2 separate regions of the Homo sapiens genome follow, and region 2 is linked to region 1. The links are contacts of gene promoters, found by promoter capture Hi-C in human tissues and cell types (Jung and others, 2019). All regions are on one chromosome and are shown on one strand. Each heading gives the region's core, a stretch centred on a gene start or on the middle of the fragment in contact. The rest is flanking DNA. Distances are from core to core; before and after follow the strand shown. Region 1 holds the start of MMP3 (matrix metallopeptidase 3). Region 2 has its middle 19 kb from the start of MMP12.

What was found. Contacts are between HindIII fragments. The study calls those that stand out against the background at their distance.
Region 2: a contact is called between a fragment that was not itself captured here and the fragment with the promoter of MMP3 in region 1, in 1 of the 25 tissues and cell types used here (pancreas).

What each region holds. Positions count from the first base shown.
Region 1 is chr11:102,841,039-102,845,541 of GRCh38, forward strand. It overlaps MMP3 (matrix metallopeptidase 3), which reads right to left and starts at 2,571. Exons shown (of 10, transcript NM_002422.5): 1 at 2,404-2,571; 2 at 1,634-1,878; 3 at 1,393-1,541; 4 at 1,116-1,241. The coding sequence starts at 2,508. The HindIII fragment of the contact is 10,071 bases long and covers 1-4,503 here.
Region 2 is chr11:102,891,517-102,896,019 of GRCh38, forward strand. No RefSeq gene overlaps it. Among named protein-coding and RNA genes, the nearest start is that of MMP12, 19 kb to the left of the region's middle. The HindIII fragment of the contact is 3,990 bases long and covers 1-3,949 here.

The sequences.
Region 1 (4,503 bases), core at 1,321-3,820:
AATTGATAATGTCTCAGCCTCATCATCATGAAGTACATATTGAGACTAAAAACATGAATAATGATAGATGTCATAGGATTTGCAAAATTGGTTTAAAACACAGTATGCCCAATCATGTCTAGCATTTGTCACACAACAGATTTAGAATACATAAACACTGGCTTTATTCAAAATTTTTTCCTTCATATTTTTAAAAACACCCATAATGCTAAAATTGGGAGGCATTGGGTAATTATGATCAATATAGTAAGTAAATCTACCTTACTTTTGCTAGTATTACTTGTGTAACTTGTGATGCTAGGAACAATCTCATTTGAGAGTTTGCAGGAAGGTTTCTTTACAAGAATTCGTTAACTCAACCAATCAAGAATTCTATCCAGGACTAAACTCACATTTGTACGTCCTACAGAGGTTTACATTTTCATTATAAATCCCAGTTAAACCTCAGACATAGTATTAATTGTTTTCCTATTTTTTTAGAAGTAGTGTTAATTGTTTTAGCTGATTTTTTTGAAAACTTTGGATGTCATTCCCCAAAACATACAGTTATGAACTGAGAAACATTCTTCTACCTAAACAGTTTGAACGTTGTATTTGGGAGTTAGTCTTTTCCTTCAGAACAAGCCCATAAAAATTCTTTTAACCTAAAAGTACTAAAATAATGCCTCAGCCAGAAAAAAAAAAAAAAGAGAATCTCAGTTTCTGAAATTTAATTCTTATTTCTGGTTTGAAGAGTAAAGAAGTAAATGGAGGAAATTACATAAGTAACATCCAGAGCACATTTTAATGTAGATTCAGTGCAATATACTATCCCTTGAATGTTTGTATTTTGATATGAGAAATTTTTCTTAATAATGGTTACCCCTAGATCACAAAGATCCAGTCATTAAAGAAATACTTAATGATATTTCCTATATTGTGCTTACCAATATAGGAAAACTGTTAAAGCATCTGAAAATATTTTCAATAATAATTAAAACAAAAATATATTCTGCTGATCTCTGATCCACTGGAAAATCCAGAACATCTCATTTCTTGAGCATTCTTGGTTATTAACAGATTTCTACATATAAAAAAATTAATGCCAAAATCATTCTGAGAGATGTGTAACTAACCTGTTGTATCCTTTGTCCATTGTTCATCATCATCAAAGTGGGCATCTCCATTAATCCCTGGCCCAGGGGCATAGGCATGGGCCAAAACATTTCCAGGTCCATCAAAAGGGTAAAAGTCTCCATGTTCTAGTAGGAAAAAAATTTATTGGAAAGATATGTAACAAGGATCCCTTTTGAGCCTTTTCCAGTACAACAACACCAGATAGATGAATGGATACATTTCATGTGTTTTTTGTTTTGTTTTGTTTTGCTTTTTTTTTTTTTTTTTTTTTTTTACCTCTAACTGCAAAAGAGATCATTATATCAGCCTCTCCTTCATACAGCCTGGAGAATGTGAGTGGAGTCACCTCTTCCCAGACTTTCAGAGCTTTCTCAACAGCAGAATCAACAGCATCTTTTGGCAAATCTGGTGTATAATTCACAATCCTGTAGGAGAAAAATTGAAGCAGATGCTATTTTCTCCTATGATATAGTTTATAAAATTCCAATCTTATGTGAAAACCCCTCTGAACCATTACCTGTATGTAAGGTGGGTTTTCCTCCACTTCGGGATGCCAGGAAAGGTTCTGAAGTGACCAACATCAGGAACTCCACACCTGGGCTTGCGCATCACCTCCAGAGTGTCGGAGTCCAGCTTCCCCGTCACCTCCAATCCAAGGAACTTCTGCATTTCTCGGATTTTTTTAACAACAGGACCACTGTCCTTTCTCCTAACAAACTGTTTCACATCTTTTTTGAGGTCGTAGTAGTTTTCTAGATATTTCTAACAGAATAAGTATAGTTTTTAGGTCACTCTTACAATTTTTACTATAGCTATCTATTTATAGTAAGTTTTTGCAGTTGCTCACTTCTTAATCTATTTGGAGTATTTCTCTAGCTTGCTGAAATAATGGCAAATTTTATAATATGATACTAGCAACACAAATATTTAGCTAAAATTACGTTGCATTAAAAAAAAAACTGAAGCTGTTCCAAAGCAAGATATGGTTCATCCACTCTCCACTTGTTACTCATGTGCCTTAAGCCCCAGTGCTGCTACTGCTATGGTGTTGTGTGATCTTAAGAAAACACCTAATATTTCTGGCCTTTGTTTCTTCCTACATAAGAGGAGAAGCCCAAATGGTGTGATAATGAGACCTTTTCCACTTCCAACACTCTATAACTCTCTATTCTTGAACTGTTCCTACACAGTAAGCTCAAGCATTCTATGTGGGTTTTAAGACACACAGAATGGTTTCAGCTTACTCTGGAAGCTCCCCACCTGGCCAGGTCAGTTAGTGTTAATTACCTGAACAAGGTTCATGCTGGTGTCCTCACCCCTTGCAGCTCCATCCAATGGATAGGCTGAGCAAACTGCCACGCACAGCAACAGTAGGATTGGAAGACTCTTCATTTCCACTGGCTTTACTTAGCTCTATGTTGTCTCTATGCCTTGCTGTCTTGCCTGCCTCCTTGTAGGTCCAACCTCGGGAGCGCAGCTTTTAAAGAGTGACAGTGTTTGTTTGGATCACCCGCAGCTTGACTCATCCTTGCTTTCATCCAAATGGCAGCAGGACCATTTCCAAACATTCCAAATTCAAAGTAGGATGATACAACCTACTTTACTAATTTCTCTCAACCTTCCCAATTTTGCAAGGCAACACAGTGATTAATCTCCAGGAAGTGCTTCCTGTCTTGGTAGAGGAGAAAACTGGAGCATTTTTTTTCTTCTGGAAAAATTGACTGGAATTCACTAGACAATTTATGTTTGTCCTTTTGAGAGAAGAAGTAGGTTGACTTGGTAAAAATCAGAATTGTGCAGAACTTCTAAAAGCAGTTTTATTTTAAGAAACACATTATAAAAGCAAATAAAAGATGTAAGTGGAAAGTGTACATACATAGCTATAGTCTATACTATATACAATTATACTCAAAACATAAAAGATAATATCTAGAAGAAATTTAGAAGGGGTGATTTATTTTTCTGAATCTGATTTGTAATGCCTGCTATTGACTGTCGTTGGATTTGCTGGTTCTTGAGGAGGAAAACCTCATGGGCAGAATAGAACAAAGAGGGTCTGTGAAAAAGAAGGAAGTATATTCCCTTTGGGTTGGTTTTAATTCTGTAACCAATTTATTAATGGGTGATGGGCCCACGTAGCTGCTCCATAAATAGTTGTAGAATTGAAATGAATTACATTGCTTACCGGACTGAAATTCTCTCTGTCCTTGTCTTCTACACATGTCTTATTCTCTTTCAACCTTTTCCCCTCCTCCCTAAATTCAAATTAGCAGATGCTTTGAAGTTGAAGAACAGAATCCATCCTAAATTTTCTCTTCATGCTCTTCTGTTTTCTTCCTTTCCTTTCTTTTCTGTTTCTTTGTCAAGTAAAGTGTTGCTCACATTATTGGTGTATAATAAATGCTTGAATGCAAGACTCTAAACATATTCAGAGGAAGACATTTTGTAAAACTTTTATAGTCCTCTTGCCACCTGCCACCATCCATCTCCTCAATGCTTCCCTGATCACCACATTTTGTTTGTTCTTTCTTTCTTTGCTGACTTGCTTATTTGTTTGCTAAAGGGAAGAACATCTTGGGAGTAAGAACTCAGTAGAATGATGGATACAAATGTGCATTTATTAGACCTTTAATAAGTGCCCATTTTGCTTCCTCTCATTTATAACTCTTTTGCATTTTCTTCTTTGCTTTATTTTTTGTGTGTTTCTTAATAAACATTGGAGAGATTTTACCCAATAAGTTTAAAGGGATTTCTCTGTGGCAATAAGATCCCTATGACTGAAGATGCCCACACAGTTGATAGCCACTTGGCAGGGGGCTATACATCACATTTAAGCCTTCATTTTTAGACTAGATTATGTCTAAAGACTTTTTCAAATTTTATTTAAAAAATAGAGACAGAGGTTTCACTATGTTGCCCAGGCTGGTTTCGAGCTCTGGGCTCAAGTGATTCTCCTGCCTCAACCTCTCAAAGTGCTAGGATTACAGACATGGGTCACGGCACCTGGCCTAAAGACATTTTAAAACTAGTATTCTATGGTTCTCCATTCCTTTGATGGGGGGAAAAACCATGTCTTGTCCTGATTGAAATACAGGGAAAATATTTGGCCACATTGATATGAGGACAAGGAGAACAGAGTGGTGGCAGTGATGTGAATTCCAGGAAGAAACAGTGGAGCCCAACAGATAAAATATTGAGAGGTTAAAAGTGTAGAAGCTGTGGCAGCTCTAATTCCTTCTATATTAAGGTTTATCCTTTGTAAATTTTCTCTGGAGTTATAACTTATAAAACATATTTAAAGTTTAGAGGAAAGCCTGATAGATAATATGTTTGCTTTTCCAACTGTTAAGATGTGATTGGCAAAATGGGCCATGCTGTTCCTGAACT
Region 2 (4,503 bases), core at 705-3,204, 50 kb after region 1:
AGTCTTAGGCTCCCAAAGGGATTTGGGATTACAGGTGCAAGTTACTATGCCTGGCCTGTACTCCCTTTTAAAGGTTGATTTTTTGATGTAAAAGAAAGCTTTACCATTTATTTTTACTTCAATATGAAACCTTCTCATGTGCTTTTTCTTTTTGGTGTTTGAAAGCAACCTAGCTAGAGAACAATGATAATGTGGGGCTGAGAGGAAACATCAGAAATCTGAGGTTGGAGAGGAAATGTACATGATAGGAATGGAAGCCACCAAGTCAGAAGACAAGCTTCCCAAACTTCTTCATGGTATAGGGCAGTAGTAGAGCTCAGGTTCTAGAGCACTGTTTCTCAAAGTGTGGTCCCAGACCAGCAGCATCAGCCTTTCCTAGGAATTTGTTAGGAATGCAAAATGTTGGTTTCTTTCCCAGACTTCTTGAATCAGAAACTCTAGAGGTGGAGTCCAGCAATGGCAGTTTGGGGACCACTGCTCTAGCATTTAAAGGAAGGATCTACAGAGGATTTGCGCTACAGCCTGCCTTTAGTTTTTTTTCCCTTTTTCCCTCTTTCCCTGCTCCTAGGCAACAAAGATAAAAATATAGTAAAAACTAGGTGCTTCTCTGAATGGCTGGATTTGAAGAAGTTCTATTTTAAAACTGCATTTAAAAAAAAGGGCCAGGTGGTTCACACCTGTAATCCTAACACTTTGGGAGGCCGAGGCTGGTGGATCACTTGAGCCCAGGAGTTTGAGACCACCCTTAACAACATAGTGAAACCCCATCTCTACAAAAAGCTGAGTGTGGTGGCATGTTCCTGTAGTCCCAGCTACTCAGGAGGCTGAGGTGGGGGAATCACTTGAGCCCAGGAGGTGGAGGTTGTAGTGAGCTGAGATTATGCCACTGCACTCCAGCCTGGGTAATAGAGTGAGACACCACCTCAAAAAAAAAAAAAAAAAAAAAAAACACCAACAAAAAAAACTCATTGATTACCTGCAGGGCACCAGCCACTGTCTGAGGCACAGTAAACAGAAAGAGAGTAACTATCCCTGCACTAGAGGAGGCCTGCTCAAGGCAGTATGTGTGTGTGTGTGTTTGTATCCGTGTTGGGATGGGGATGAAGTGGAAAGTGGGAAAGGCTTTTTGGAAATGATGAATCCCAAATTGCGTTTTGAAAAGTCGATTGGAGCACGAGGTCAAAGGTAGGAAGATGCACTTTAGCCAAAGGACCAGTTGTAGAAATGCTCAGTAATTCCCTTGTGAATATTTTGATCCAGAAAGATATACTAGAGCATTGCAGAAACGCAGCTGCCCAGGAGTTTGGTTTTTACTGCCTGACTTCACTTTGATTTCATGGCTTGGATGAAAAAGAGACATCTACTTCCTAGTTTCTCTCTATCTTAAAGTTCAATATTGAATCCAACTCTATTTTCTGGCTGTCTTTCAAGGATTTTCCTGAGTCTTCTGTTCCCACTGTTTCTGCCTAGATCTTCCACATACTAGAAGCACCAATCTCCTCCAACCATCTACAGCTCCCTGTGACCAAGATCATCGTGGGCAAAACTGATTCTTCTAATCAACATTTATCACACTTGCTTTTCACCAATGAACTTGGTCTTTAGAGCATTTACAAACAAGTATGAGGTGCCTTCCCTCAGAAAACTCACAACCCAATTAAAGACACAAGACCTAGATATAAAAAATAACAATTTAGACTGCAAATGACTTAGTAAAGAATTATATGAACTGTAAACCCCATAGAAGGACATGGCTTGACAAGTTATGGGCCACAGACCAAATCCAGCCTGCAAGCTAAAAATGGCCCTTCCTTCCACTTTTATTTTATTTTATTGTTGTTGGTTTTTTTTTTTTTAAGACAAGGTCTCACCATATTGCCTAAGCTGGTCTCAAACTATTGGGCTCAAGTGATCTTCATGCCTCAGTTTCTTGAGTACTGGGATGACAGCACATGTCACTGACCCAGGTTCCATTTTTAAATGGTTGAAAAATGAAATAAAAGTAATACACAGAGACACATGAAAACTATATGAAATTCAAATATCAGTATCTACAAATAAAATTTTATTGAAACACAGTCATATGCATTCAATTATATATCATCTATGGCTGCTTTCTTTCTCCAAAGGCAGAGTTGATTTTTTTTCTTTTTTTGAGACAGAGTCTCACTGTGTGATATGGTTTAGCTGTGTCCCCACCCAAATCTCATCTTGAATTGTAACTCTAACAATTCCTATGTGTCATGGGAGGAACCCGGTGGGAGGTGATTGAATTATGGGGGTGAGTCTTTCCTGCACTGGTCTCCTGATAGTGAATGTGTCTCACAAGATCTGATGGTTTTAAAAAGGGGAGTTTCCCTGCACAAGTTCTTCTTCTTTTGTCTGCTGCCATATGAGACGTGCCTTTCACCTTCCACCATATTTATGAGGTCTCCCCAGCCAAGTGGAACTATAAGTCCACGTCTTTATCAGCAGTGGGAAAATTGACTAATATACTCTGTTGCCTCAGCTGGAGTGCAGTGGCATGATCTTGGTCACTGCAGCCTCCACCTCCAAGTTCAAGAGATTCTCCTGCCTCAGCCTCCTGAGTAGCTGGGACTACAGGTGCACGCCACCACACCTGGCTAATCTGTGTATTTTTTTTTAGTAGAGTGGGGGTTTCACTATGTTGGCGAGGCTGGTCTTGAACTCCTGATCTCAAGTGATCCTCTCGCCTCGGCCTCCCAAAGCACTGGGATTACAGGTGTGAGCCATCACACCCAGCCCCCAGTGGCAGAGTTGAGTAGTTGCAACAAAGACCATATAGCCTATTTTCCAAACTGTGATGCTCTGCTTCCCTTTTAAACATAAGTTCCAATTACAAATCTATCTTTGTAAATACATAAAACTGAATGCTTTTAACAGCACCCATCCCCTCTTGAATGCTTGCCTGCTTAGAAATTTCTTCTACCAGATGCCCTAAATCATCTCCTTCAAGTTCAAAGTTCCACAAATCTCCAGAGCTGGGACAAAATGTTCCCATTCTCTTGGCTAAAACATAGCAAGAGTCACCTTTATTCCAGTTCCCACATGTTCCTCACCTCCGTCTGAGACCACCTCAACCTGGACTTCATTATCCATATCACTATCAGCATTTTGGTCAAAGCCATTGAACAAGTCTCTGGAAAATTCCAAACTTTCCCACATCTTTCTGTCCTCTTCTGAGCCCTCCAAACTATTCCAATCTCTGCCTGTTACCCAATTCCAAAGTTGCTTCCAGATTTTCAGGTATCTTTACAGCAGCACCTTACTCTACCAGTACCAATTTACTATATTAGTCTGTTCTCATTCTGCTAATAAAGACATACCTGAGCCAGGTGCGATGGCTCATGCCCATAATCCCAGCACTTTGGGAGGCTGAGGCATGTGGATCACTTGAGGTCAGGAGTTTGAGACCAGCCTGGCCAACATGGTGAAACCCTGTCTCTACTAAAAATACAGAAAAATTAGCTGGGCATGGTGGTAAGCGCTTTAATCACAGCTACTTGGGTGGTGAGGCAGGAGAATCACTTGAGCCCAGGAGGTGGAGGGTGCAGTGAGCCAAGATTGTGCCACTGCACTCCAGCCTGGGTGACAGAGCAAGACTCAATCTCAATAATAATAATAATAATAATAATAATAATAATAATAATAATAACACATACCAGAGACTGGGTAATTTATAAACAAAAGAGGTTTAATTGACTCACAGTTCCACATGGCTGGGGAGTCCTCACAATCATGGTGGAAGGCAAATGAGGAGCAAAGTCACATCTTACATGGTGGCAGGTAAGAGAGTTTGTGCAAAGGAACTCCCATTTATAAAATCATCAGATCTTGTGAGATTTATTCACTGCTACAAGAACAGTATGTGGGAAACCGCCCCAAAGATTCAATTTTCTCCAGCTGGCCCCACCCTTGACATGTGGGGATTATTACAATTCCGTGTGAGATTTGGGTGGGGACACAGCTAAGCCATATCAGTATTCCATAATGTATATATATCACATTTTCTTTATCCAGTCTACTATTGATGGGCATTTAGGTTGATTCCATGTCTTTGCTAGAGATCTACTTTCTAAGGTCCCATATGTGAGTGAGAACATGCAATACTTCAGTTAATGTAATGACCTCCAGTTCCATCCATTTTTCTGCAAATGGCAGGATTTCATTCTTTTTTTTTTTTTAACATAATCAAACATGGTCAAAGGATTTAATTTTTTGGGCTGAATAATATTCCATTCTGTATACATACCATATTTTCTTTATCTATTCATCTATTGATGGACACTTAAGTAGATTCCACATTGTCACTATTGTGAATAGTGCCACAGTAAACATGGGTGATACGGTTTGGCTCTGTGTCCCTACCCAAATCTCATCATGTAGCTCCCATAATTCCCATGTGTTGTGTGAGGGATCTGGTGGGAGATGACTGAATTACGGGGGTGGGTCTTTCCCATGCTGTTCTCATGATAGTGAATG